Regions from separate parts of the Homo sapiens genome. Here regions 1, 3 and 4 are each linked to region 2. Evidence: promoter capture Hi-C in human tissues and cell types (Jung and others, 2019). All regions are on one chromosome and are shown on one strand. The core of a region is centred on a gene start or on the middle of the fragment in contact, and the rest is flanking DNA. Distances in the headings are between cores, read along the strand shown.

Region 1 (2,945 bases), core at 24-2,523, 190 kb before region 2:
TCTGCTCTAGAAGTCAGAAAAATGAAATCCTGGCTCTGTGTGTTACTGTTGTGTGGCCTGGGGCATTACTGGACTGCTTGGCTCTCAGTTTCAGCACTTGCAACATTTATGGGTTTTTTTGTTTTTCTTGTTTTTTGTTTTGTTTTTGTTTTTGTCTTTGTTTTTTGATAAATAAAGCTTCCAGCAGAGGGTCTTGTATATACCAGGTCTTTAATAAATGTTAGGTGATTAAAAATGCACCTACAAAAATCTATTATCATAAGATGATGTATCAATTAGACAATGCAGATAAAGCAATGGGCAAAATTCAGTACCCATTCTGAACAAAACTTATGTTAAATACAGAGACTCTTTCATGATAGGGTTACTACTTACACCCAAAGTAATTTAAACCTCATGAAAGATGCTTTCTTGAAATTGCATTTAATATTTTCCACTGTAACCTATATCTTATTCTTAGTTAACCTAGCTAAGATCTAAGACAGAAAAGGCTTGAGAAGATTTCCACTCCCCAGGCAGGCAATCAAAGCCTACATGATTTCCCTAAGATCCCACAGTGAGTCACGGGATGCAGGCAGCATTAGATGTCAGTATTAGTCCACAAGATAAGTGAGCAAAGATATTTCCAACACAACATTTTAAAATGTCTTCCTTGGGTGCTTGGTTACTTCAATTATTCCAGGATGATCTGGTGATATCTGGTGACTTTGTTTGGATTCCAAAATGCCATACTAAACTCAACAGGTGGACGTCCTTTATCTTTGGATTCAAGGAAGAAATGAAATACCCAAGAAGCAAAGGGGACTTGAGATGCGGAAGAGTTCAAGAAGGTAGCGGAGTAGTATTTGCCAGTTTTCAGTGTGTAAATACTCCTTCCACGGCCAGTTTCAGGCTACCACTGTGATGTCAACCAGCTTGCCAATTTTTTGAAAATTTAGTAATCAGCTCTTTCATGCCACTTGAAGTAGACTCCAGCACAACACCAGCTCTGCCTGTCTTCATTTCTGTGAATTACCACCTGAAAACATGGCTTTGATGATCACATACTTGGAATAATACTCTTGTTTTTGTTGTTGCTTTTTCAATTTATTTTTAATTGCCCCAAATTATTTTTTTCTGGTACCACTCATATGTAAAATGCAAGTAATTTGCTTTTTGGCTGTGGCATGGGTATAAATCCTGCCATATGAAAGAAGAGAACATCTTATGGCTATACCCTTTCAAGCATCTCTCCTCCAGCTCTTTCTGGCGTAATGCCTGATGGAAGGGAACAGCTCATAAGTAGAGACTGAGAAATATGGTAATATTTTGACTTATAAATGTTTCTGAACATTTCTCTCTGTCAGGATTGAACCAATCTTGTCCTAAGATTCTTCTAGCCAAGAAGCTGTTGTACTGCTTTAGGGTACAAAAGAAGCTCCAAACACCATGATGACTAAAATAAGGGAAGTAGAGGAGAGAGGGAAACCCCGGTGATCCTAACAATAAGAACAAAACCAATATATCATATTTTTGTGGCCTTTTAGATTACAAAGCACGTATACACACATTCTCGGAGTTCTGGATATTGCATTTTAAGAGGACATTGATAAATGGGAGAACATCCAGAGGAGACCATTGACAATAAAAAATACACTGCAGGATTGTTTACAATGGGCCATGGACTCTACCAGTGGTTTCACCTGTTCAATCTTATTTAATTCTTTCAACTCTCCTATGATCTTATAGAGGAGGAAAACAATAATCAGAGATTATGATTAGCAATTTGTCTTCTCTCATGTATTTGGTGAATGATGAAGCTGATATTTAAAACCAAGGAGTCTGATTCCAAAAGTTGTTCTCTTAATAGATAGTATTCAAACCATGTTTTGCCTGAAGTAGAGATTAACCACTGACATACTAAATGTTTCAAGTTCTCAAAAGCCCCTCATCTAGATTGAGGAATTACATCTATGAGTGTCCCCAGAAGAAGGCACTAAGACCAGAATGTAGAAAATGCTAAAAGCTGACATGGAGACAAAATAGGCTCATCTTTCTTTAGCAGAAGCCTGAAATGGAAGGAACCATCTTGGGCAATCATGATTTTCTCATCATTAACTGATGCCCAAAGACTGGATTATAGGTTTGGGGTACTTCTAGGAAGAATATGGACTAAGAAGTGTAGTTTCAATTAGATAACCTCCCTGTGCTGTCCAGTGCAGTAGCCACTATCCACGTGTGGCTATTTAAATTTAATTAATACTGAGCATAAATTAAAATTCAGCTCCTCAGTCATACTAGTCAAGCGTCATGTGCTCAATAGCCATCTATGACTAGTGACTATCGAGTTGGTGGACATGTTGGGTGTGCAGATGTATAGAACATTTCCAATATTGCAGAAAGTCCTACTGGATGGTGTGGTTCTGAACTATAAAATCTGCCTTTTAGAATTCTCTGTGATTTTGAGAAAAGCAGGATGAGTAATAATTCTGATTTCGTGAATGAGAAAATTGAGGATAGAAACTTTTTTCCTAGCCTAAGTGCTAACACTTCATGATCCTCGGATGCCTACACACACCTTGCTCCCCATCACCAAACACCTGTTTCCACCACTGCAGCTGCAGCTGCTGGGCTGTGGGTGTGCAGGCAGACTCCCTTAATTATTTCCAGTGCTTCGTTTTTGTGGCCATAGGAGAACCTGGTAATGTGCTGTTTGGTGTGTAGATAATTATCAGTTATTCGTGACTCCCCTTTCATTTGCCCACAGAGCATTTCCTGAGATCTTTGAAAGCAACTGGGCCACAACGCTTTGTGGGCAAAGAGAGGAATTATAGTAGCTGTGAGGAAAATAAATTGTGATGTCAGCTTGATTACAGTGTTGGTTACTGCTCAGTCAAAACTTTGTGATAAAGAGCCTTTCCACAGGAAATTCATTTACAGATACCATCTACCATCTAGCACAGCAC
Region 2 (3,210 bases), core at 184-2,683:
CAAGCCTGGGTGAGATCACGTCTGGAGCCACAGAAGGATGAAGCAGTTTATATTTAAATGCCATGGCAAAACAACATCCCCACCATTACACCCTCCATTCTCATTCAAGTTCTTCGGGAGAAAGGAAAAATATGGTCGGGTTCATTGCTATTCAGTTTTGAAGTTGAGCCTGCATTTGGACACAGGCGCTTGGGAGAGTGGGTCATTTTCTTTGACACAATTATTAAGGAAACCGTTTTAAATGATTCCTTGAGTCCCCCAATGGCCCAGGTGGAAGGTGCTGTTTCCTGGTACCTGTCCAGCCCTCTGAGCTTTTCTCTCAGCTTCCAAACGCTGCAGTTGAGAACTAGCAGATCCTATTGGTAGTGCCCTGTGGCCCACACTCCTTGGTAACGGTGAGAGTGGGGAGTAATTAGGAGCGGCTGCCATGGGCCAGGCATTCAGGTCAAGGCCGAGGATGGTGGCCAGGGCCACAGAGCCAGGGGACGGGTGGGGACCCAGCAGGCCTGCGGCTGGCCGCTTGCTGAGCGCTCCAGCAGCGGGGCCCTGGGCGGATGAAGGGCCGGAGAAGGCCCTCTGCTGGGGCCGCGGCGATCTTGCAGCGCCTGGACACCGAGGCTGGGGCACTAACGGTCCGTGGGGCTCCCGACGTATTCCTCTAACTTCCCCTTTCTGTCCTTTCGGTCTGGGGCCTTTTCAACACCCCCTGTGGCCGGGGACAGCTGGGGCAGAAACCGGCAGGCGGCAGAAGCCTCAAGCAGCTCTGACCTCTGGCACCTCCCCAAGACCCAGAGCACAACATCTGTCCCCAGAAATCCCCGGGCGGAGAAGAGCGCGCGCCAAGCCCTTCCTGGGTACTCAGTATTCTCCCTTCCTGGGAACAGCCTGCCCTCTGAGGCCTGGGCACCCGGGTTCCCGAGCGCCGGGTCCCAGCCCCGCGGGGGCGCCTCCGCACCCCATCTCCGCGCCCGGCGCAGAGCCGCCAGTCTCCGCCGCGGGGCCCCGTGCCCCGCAGCGCCACCTAGGGGCCGGGCGCCGCCTCCCGCCCTCAGGGGCACCCCCCTTACTCCGCAAGGACTCCGGGTCTCCCCAGTTCTCCCGGCAGCCGGACCCTCCCAGCCTCGGCCGCCGGGCCGCCCTCCGCATCCCAAGCCCGCCTCCCGTGCCTCCCCGGGGGCGCACCGGCAGCGAGGAGCGGCTCGGCGAGGGCGCGCAGCGGCGGCCCAGGCCCAGGCCTTGGGGCTGGGGCTGAGGGGGTGAGAGCAGGCGCGGCCGGCGGGCAAGGGGAACCGGGCGATGGCAGCGGCGGGCGGCCGCGGGAGGCGAGGCAGCGGCGGCGGCGGGCGGCGCGACGAGCCCCTGTGATTGGCACAGCCGGAGCCGGAGGAGGAGGCCAGGGGAGGGCGGAGGCGGGGGAGGAGGAGGAGGAAGGGGCGATCGCGGCGGCGGCGGCGGCGGCGAGGAGCTGTGCCTTCCACCTCTCCAGCCCCGGCAGGACGGGGGCGGCCGCCGCGAACCCGGGGCGGGGACAGCACGCAGCCTCGAGGCGCGCACCCCCGCCCGGCAGCGGCCCCGACACCCGGGGCGAGCGGGAAAGCGGCAGCGGCGGCGGCGGCGGCGGCGGCGGGGGAAGGATGCAGGGGAAGAAGCCGGGCGGTTCGTCGGGCGGCGGCCGGAGCGGCGAGCTGCAGGGGGACGAGGCGCAGAGGAACAAGAAAAAGAAAAAGAAGGTGTCCTGCTTTTCCAACATCAAGATCTTCCTGGTGTCCGAGTGCGCCCTGATGCTGGCGCAGGGCACGGTGGGCGCCTACCTGGTGAGTCCCCGAGCCAACTCCGCCGCGGGCCCCTTCCCCAGCCCGGCTCTCGAGCGGCCGCCTGGCCCGACGAGGGGGCCGCCCGGCGCTGGGGGCAGGCGGGCATGACCTCGGCCCGGCGTGGAGGTTGGCGAGTGGTGCAGAGGCGGCCGCCGGGGGAGCTGCCGGCCGGGGCTGCCAGCGAGCGGGTAGCGGGCGGGACCGTTGATGCCGGTAGCAGCTCGCGCGCGTCCGGCTGGGGCAGGGGGTGCCGGGGGAGGAGAGGCGGCGGGCAGGTGGGCGTGAAACTATTCCTCTCCCCCCATAAGAGCGGAGCGAGACGGTGAGTTCAGGGTTCTCCTTGGAGAGGAACGAAAAAGCGTCGGGGTTTTCAGGTGACCTGCACATGGGAAGAAAAACCAGTTAGCATCCTGCGTCCTCTACTCTCCATTGCATCCTCCTCGAGAACAAATCTATTATGCATCATTTTCTCCGGGCGCTTTCTACATCCGCCAATTACAGGGGGATATAACAGCTTAGAGTGAAATGCGCCCTAGTGTGGCCCTGGCCTGAGCCGGGGCTGCAGGGGGAATATTGCCACCCGGTATCCCTATAGCCCTCTTTGAGCGTCTGGGATAAAGTTACGGTACCTAGAGAGCAGCTGCGAGTTTGTGTAGTTCCTGCTATCCACTCTTAGTGCTAAATTCCCCATCGTGGTCTGTCGCCTACAGAAGGTTGCACCATTTTCCACAATGAATATGTATTTTATTTGCCTCCAGAAAGGGGATGTTAATGCTCAGAGGGCCCATGGGTGCGTAACATTTCAGAGGAAACAGCTTGTAATGACTCAGCACTGTCAGGTACCTACTTTGTCGCTTTCGCCTCCTCTGCTCAGGTGGTCGCAACTTGAGTTCCAGAGAGCGTGCTTCCACACCTAAGTACAGTCCTGTCTAAACGGGAAATTTTTTTTGAGAGTTTATAGTGTTAAATCATTACTTGGCTATTGACCCGCAACTGGAATCAAATGTCATAGACTTTGAGTATTCCTGAGCAAGTTTGATGGAGATAGAATTGGACAAGATTTTGGCCATTGAATAACCACATCCAGAGATAGAACCACGCGTATCCTGATGCTATGATTAATCCCTCATTCCTGGCCTTGGGGTAAAGTTCATGAGGGCCAGACGCTGGGGGCTGTATACCATTCATAAACTATCTCTTAAGGCTCAGGGCTCACTGTTAAAGGGAAATACAAGCAGTGCTTGGTCTCCGGTGTTGAGGAAGTTAGGTGGTTGTGAGAGAGGGGGTCTTCAAACTCAGCTCTGTTCCTGGGGTGACAGAATTTCAGGGCTTTTGAAAATCAAATACATTTCTGTTGCTCATTCTGAGACGAAAAGCGTTTACATCCCGGTCTCTG
Region 3 (3,152 bases), core at 67-2,566, 130 kb after region 2:
GTCAGACAATGGGGTCCCTCAGGCCCTGTGTCACAGAGGGCCCTGCACTAGTGCTCCTCAGGAGTGTGCCAGTTCTGGAGGGTGGTTGCTTGCAAAGGGCCACAGGACCACTTCCAGGGCCTGCTTGTCCTGCAGAAGGTGGCCTGAAGGGGTGGCCAAGAGATGCTTCTCATCAGAGACAGGACGGAAGGAGGAATGAGTGCACGGAGCTGGTTCCTGTGGGCTTCCTAGTCTACGTGTAGGTGGGGGAGGCCTTCGAGGAGCAGGATGGAGCCCTGGGTTGGGGGAAGAGGGTGCCATGACCAGGGTATGGCTCTCCCCCTTGTAACAGGCTTCCAGTGCCAAGGAGGCTGGGAATTCCACATTTGGATCTGGTCCTCTGAGTTTACATTCCCTTGAGGAGCGTGACAAGGTGAAACCAGTGGAGGTGGGCTCTGGGAGCACCTGGTGGGCAGAGGCTGAGTGGCATGGCTTTTTGAGAGATGAGGGAGTACCTGCTAGCCACCATGCTCGGCCTATATTTGCCCTTTCCTCGGCTACTGTCCAGGTAGGGGTGTGATGGTGGGCAAGCAGCTGAGCCTGGGTCAGGGGGTAAAGAGCCTCCCTGGCTTCCTGGGGAAGAGGACAAAAGGTGGGTGTTCACCCCATGGGATTCCGGGGAGATAAGATTAGGGAGATGGGGAAGTGGCTGTGGGTGCCTATTGGCAGCAGGATCCTTTCCTTCCATCCTTGCCTGCCTCCTAGAGCTCACTGTCCCAAAGAAAGGTAGTATGAGTGACAGGTGTCATTTTAATTCTCTAGTAGCCATTTTTTTTTAAAGTATGCAGAAAGAAGTAAAATTCATTTTATGTTGACCTAATAGAGCCAAAATATAATTTCAGTAAGTGATCAATGTGAACATTACTAGTGAGACGTTTACATTCTTTTAAAAAAAAAAAAAAACTAGGTTTCAAAATCAGATGTGGGTTGACACTTCCAGCGCACCTCAGTTCAGACCAGCTGCATTGGTTAACCTCCTGGACAGGGCAGCCCCAGAGGGGATCATGGCCTTTGGTGCGAAATGAAGTTAATTTGGGTTTGTACTCTCCATAGCTATTTAATATGAACTGTTGCTTTTTCATAGTTTTGATTTTGTTATGAAGATATATTTGTAAAAATAGGAAGATAGAACATATTTTAAGTTTGTTAGGTTGAATTTAAACTTTTAATGTCAAGGCATATGGGGAGAAGGGTATCTCCATTTGTACCTTTGCCCATAAATTCTGGTAGCTGTCAGCGGTCAAGAGAGAGGAAGGTTGGTGGTGGCCATGGTCAGATGCTGTCCATCTCAGTGTATCCAGGCAGGGACACAGGCAAGGACCATTTCTTACTCATCTTTGGGGCTTCACAGCCCCAAAGATTCTTTGCAACCTGAGCAGAAGTTGCTTTTTATCGCTTACAGATTTGACATTTTCTAGGAAGGTGATGCAGGTTTTAAAAACCGTATAGTTGAGAAGAGTGGCAGCAATAATCAGATAATAAGGGAACAAAACCCAGTTCTTTGCGTTGTGTCGGTAGGTGCCACATGAAGGGGGAGCATACATCTGCCTTTTTTTCCCCCATATTCCTAGAGCCTAGTGTTCAGTAGGTGCTAATGAATTAACTTGTTTATTCAACACGTATTTACTGAACACCTATCATGTGTCAGGTGTCAAGTGATGTATTATGCTCTGGGGATACAACGGTGAACAAGACAAAGTTCTTGCTCTCTTGGAATTTATGTATTATTGATGAGAAGCCTGTTTTGTTAATAATAAAGTCAGGCACAGTGGCTCATGCCTGTAATCCCAGCACTTTGGGAGCCTGAGGCAGGTGGATCACCTGAGGTCAGGAGTTCGAGACCAGCCTAGCCAACATCATGAAACTCCGTCTCTACTAGAAGCTACAAAAATTAGCCGGGTGTGGTGGCGGGCACCTGTAACCCCAGCTGCTAGGGAGGCTGAGGCAGGGGGAGTTGCTTGAACCCAGGAGGCGGAGGTTGCAGTGAGCTGAGATGGCGCCACTGCACTCCAGCCTGGGCGACAGAGCGAGACTTTGTCTAAAAAAAAAAAAAAAGATAATAATAATTAATTGTGGTCGCAGCTCAAATGACATTCTGACATTTGATGGATTCTCAAAGAGCTCAGAAGAAAAATAGCAGTTTTCCTGAGTCTTAAAAGATATAATCAGTCAGCAGGCACAAGGGATATTTAAATACCTAAAGGAGGGGTCCTCGTGGCCACGTGGAGGATGTGGGATTTGCCGGCAAAGGATTAAGGGAATCCATTCAAGAACACTTGTGTCAAATTTATTTTGATTTACAAACCCATGTCTGTACCATTCTTTGTCACCTGACAGATAATTGTGTTTTATCACTTACAGATGCAGGCTTTTCTAGGGGCTGATAGCAAGGAGATATACTTTTGAAAAATGGCGTAGGGTTGGGTGCGGTGGTGCACGCCTATAATTCTAGCACTTGGGCAGGCCAAGGCGGCTGGATCGCTTGAGCTCAGGAGTTTAAGACCAGCCTGGGCAATGTGGCGAAACCTCGTCTCTACAAAAAAAATAAGCCGGGCATGGTGGGGGGAGGAGGAGGCTGCAGTGAGCCGTGATTGCACCACTGCACTCCAGCCTGGGTGACAGAGTGAGGCCCTGTCGCAATCAATCAATAAAGACATAGATGAGAAGTGTAGCATCATTAATGAAATAACAAGTGAACGTAATAAATTAACATTTAAAAATAAAACTAATTTTATTTTTAAATGTTATTTTATTTTATTTAAAGAAATTAAAAATTCAGTGAGCCCAAGGAAAACTTGATTACATGGGATGGTTCAGCATGAGACACGATAAAAAGGAAACGTGCAGATCAATTAGTAAAATAATCAAAATCCTGTGGGTCCTTTTCAGTGGTTTTTGAACTTGAGGGGAATAAGAATCACCTGGAGGGCTTGTTCCACCACAGATTGCTGGTCACTGTGCTTATAGTTTGTAATAACTCTAAGGTGGAGCCTGAAAATTTGCAGTCCTAACAAGTTCCCAGGTGATGCTGATGCTGCTGGTCCAGGAACCAGGCTTTGAAAATTCACAGGTTTATTTCATTGCATCACTCATATATGCACACAACAGCTTTA
Region 4 (3,414 bases), core at 895-3,394, 150 kb after region 2:
ATTTTATTTGCCTGATGCACACATAGTGGATTAAGAGTTTTATGGTAAAGATATTCTCCGAAATTAGTGGTAGCAATTATCTCTCAGGAAGGGCCTGCGATGGGCAGGAGACTCACTTTTTATTGAATATTCTATAATATTTGAATTAAATTTTCCCAAATGCATCTCTTTTTCAATTAAATAAACTTAATTAAAACATCTTTTCTAGTAGAACACAAGGGATACCTATGCTGATAATATTACATGCACTGTGCTGACTCAGTATAGGATCATTTAGATTACCATACCCCAGTTCTACTTAATAGCTGTATGATGCCGCCAATTAGTTCAACATCCCAAGCCTCAATTCTCAAATCTGAACAGTAGAGATGAGGTTGATTGCTTATCTCACGGAGTATTATAAAGGTGAAGTGAGGCAAGGATATCACTCTTCCCTGCATTAAAATTACATTGCCCGCCTCCCCTGTGAACCCTGTGTACCTCCATAGCAGGAAATTCATCTTATGTATCTTTACGTGCCCAAGTCCCCCAGCTCTGCTCTGAAACATTCTGATAGGAAGGGCCATTCTGTCATATTATTTATTGCTATATCTCTCTAGTGCCTGGAACCGTGCTGAGCATAGTATACGTGCTGTGTAAATGTTTGTCGAGTGCACTTATGCGTGGTAGGAGGTAGTTAATTGATGGTTGAACACTGACTTGCTGAAATGACTTACACATGTCCTGTCTCACCCCTAGTGGTTAGTGCTAACAAATGTCTCGGCTTCAGAGAAGATACACTATGGAGTATACATTCCTTTTGCTTATTAGTACTTTATTAGTTTTTCATCAGCTAGCCTGTCATGCATTGGCCTCAGCATCTATCAACAGATCTTGTCATTCTGCCTCCCCCTTCCCATCAGAGGATGTCTCATCAGTGGACATCTTGTTAGTGAATACCTCGTTATTCCTTCATCAGACCTTCTGTCATTTTCTCAGCTGCGTTGATGAGAAATCCCAGACTTCATGGGAAAGGTCAGGAGTTGGCAAATGAGAGCTAGACAAGATTCAGTAGTGACATGCAGTGGTTGTCCTGTGGGATGAAGGGCTTTCGTGAGTGATACAGTAGGTATACACAACAGTTAGTTCCCCATGGAATTCATGGATACGGGGCCAGGATTACATGCACCACCAGCCAGAAGATGACACCAGGTCAGCCTGGCCAGGCTGTGGGTCGGATCACAGCCCTTGGCAGTAGGTTTGAATGAGGTGGCACTGGAGTAGGCATTGCCTGGCAGTGCTCCCCATCAGCACTGCGCAGCTGGGGACCTGCTGCAGAAGGGCCATGCTCACACTGCTCAGCAGCTGTAGCTGTCAGCCTCTATCATGGATTCTGATAATCGTCCAGATTAACTGAAATGTGCAAAATAGGTTGGTGCCTTATGGTATGTGGTACGTGGACCGTCTCAGGCACTGGTTATAGGGGCAGATTCCTGGATCCCACCCAGACCTTCTGGGAGAGGCTCTCTGGGGTAGGGCTTCGTAAGTATCAGCTTTAACATGCTCCAGTCTGTGCTAAATCACAGGAAAGGTGGAGAGCCATGCTGGACTAGCTGGGAGTCTGGTTTTTGGAGCTGACAGACCTGGACAGGTTCTAGGCTGTGCCACCTGCTAGCTGTGTGATTGTGGCATGCAGCCCTGCTCAGCCTCTGCATCCTCCTATACGGTGAAGACCATGACGATGGTGTCCGTCTCATGGAACTGTTAGGATTAAGTGAGATAATGTATGCAGGGCATCATAGCACAGCATATGGCCTAACACAGGCAGCTAAGAGTATAGCTGGTTAGGCAGTGATGACAATGATGATGACTATCCGTGGAGAGGGGAGTGGTTTTAGTAATTCTGCTCCACGCAGCATTAGAAGAGTAGATGCTTGAGTAGTGTTGAAGAGATGATGAATTATTGGCCATTTTATTGACAAACAGAACACCAAAAACCAAAGATACTCACTCCCTGGATTAGATGTCACCGTAGTCTGTGTATCAACAAAATCTCCAAAGTGATTTGGAAGGACACTTTGAGTTTGGCAGGGGATAGATGCTGGTGAGTGAGTTGGAGAACTAATGCAGGTGCATCCCAGAAGCAATAGTTGGAGCTTCTCCCAATTGTCCCTCAAATGCATTAGTCCCGACTGAAATCTGGTGGTTTGTGTAATGTTAAAAACATTCTTTTACTTTTCATCCTGGATGCATCTATGGCCTGCATTTGAGCTCCTACCTAAAGTAGTTCTGTCTGGCAGAGAGCAGAAGAACACTCCAAGTGTGGTCTATGGCTCTAAGCTCTGAAAGCCTCATCATTTCCTTATGGGGATAATTAAAAACTCTTTTAAAGCCTCTGAAACTCTCTTATTGAACCCTAATAAATATCAGTGGCTTTATTTGCCACAACTTACTAAAAAGCAGAGCAGTGGTTAAATGAAAAGATTTATGATATTTGCATTGTTTATTTTGAAGCATCTAATTAAATAATTAGTTCAGTCTTCTAGCTGTTTTTAGAAACAAGTCTTTAGAACCCTACAGAGAGATTTTCTGGGCCCAGGAACTCATTTGGGGAAGTGATTGGCCTTTGAACAGTAAGTAGAAAGTCATCAAGGTAGCTCTGCCCACCTGGTGTTTGCTTATGGAAACCATCTGCTGGTTAAAGTTCCTGGCTCAGAACAGCCCTAGCCAGGCAGTCACAGCCTGCACAGAGGTGCAGTGATGGCCATAGTGTGCCGAAGGGGCTGATCGCTTCAAGAGCGTCTGGAAAGTTGATGGTCTATCTGTCACTGCGATCTTGACATCCTGTGTGGTTCAGTCTGGTTGCAGTTGGACTCATGCTGGGTCTGGCGGGTAGGTGAGAATCTCTACCTTGCTGTTGCTGTCCAGGTTTCAAGGCAAGCGTGAGAGTAGTCCTACACAGAGGAAAACACACATTAGGCTCAAGCACCTGCCTGTGCTTTGCTGCTGCTTGTTTAAAGGAGTGCTTGGAAATGCCAGCTGCCCAGCCTCTAGAGAGCTGGGGGGATGGACCCCTATCCTGTGAGAAGTTGAGTTTGAGGATACACCTGACCGCTGAGGGATGCAGAGCACACCTACGCTAGCTCACTTTTACACAACCCGATAGATTTCTTGATGTTATGCACTGGATAATTCCCTTGTGGCCCAGTCACCTTCCCTTTTGTAGGGATGGCCTGTCTATGTGATAGAAAGTACTCAAGCCATGGAATCAAGTGGATGTGAATTCCACTGCTGAACCTGCCACACACTGACTTTGGGACTGAGCGAAAGCGTTTCTGAGACTCAGCCCTTCTAACTCTCACAGGAGGAATGGAATAGCTAATTGCACCCAGTGAGGGTTAAAAACGTCTTGTATGTGAAAGGAGATAATGCCAC

Evidence for each region. The method cuts DNA at HindIII sites, captures the fragments that hold promoters and counts their contacts. A contact is called where the count stands out against the background at its distance.
Region 1: a fragment that was not itself captured here is called in contact with the fragment with the promoter of SLCO3A1 in region 2 in 2 of the 25 tissues and cell types used here (heart left ventricle and mesendoderm cells).
Region 3: a fragment that was not itself captured here is called in contact with the fragment with the promoter of SLCO3A1 in region 2 in 1 of the 25 tissues and cell types used here (aorta).
Region 4: a contact is called between a fragment that was not itself captured here and the fragment with the promoter of SLCO3A1 in region 2, in 1 of the 25 tissues and cell types used here (hippocampus).

Annotation. Positions count from the first base shown.
Region 1 is chr15:91,657,609-91,660,553 of GRCh38, forward strand. No RefSeq gene overlaps it. Among named protein-coding and RNA genes, the nearest start is that of SLCO3A1, 190 kb to the right of the region's middle. The HindIII fragment of the contact is 8,960 bases long and covers 1-2,945 here.
Region 2 is chr15:91,852,275-91,855,484 of GRCh38, forward strand. It overlaps SLCO3A1 (solute carrier organic anion transporter family member 3A1), which reads left to right and starts at 1,434. Exons shown (of 10, transcript NM_013272.4): 1 at 1,434-1,814. The coding sequence starts at 1,635. RefSeq lists silencers at 856-1,030, 899-1,038. The HindIII fragment of the contact is 13,420 bases long and covers 1-3,210 here.
Region 3 is chr15:91,985,664-91,988,815 of GRCh38, forward strand. All of the region lies in intron 2 of SLCO3A1 (solute carrier organic anion transporter family member 3A1), which reads left to right. Among named protein-coding and RNA genes, the nearest start is that of SLCO3A1, 130 kb to the left of the region's middle. The HindIII fragment of the contact is 6,552 bases long and covers 1-3,152 here.
Region 4 is chr15:92,002,605-92,006,018 of GRCh38, forward strand. All of the region lies in intron 2 of SLCO3A1 (solute carrier organic anion transporter family member 3A1), which reads left to right. Among named protein-coding and RNA genes, the nearest start is that of SLCO3A1, 150 kb to the left of the region's middle. The HindIII fragment of the contact is 7,034 bases long and covers 1-3,414 here.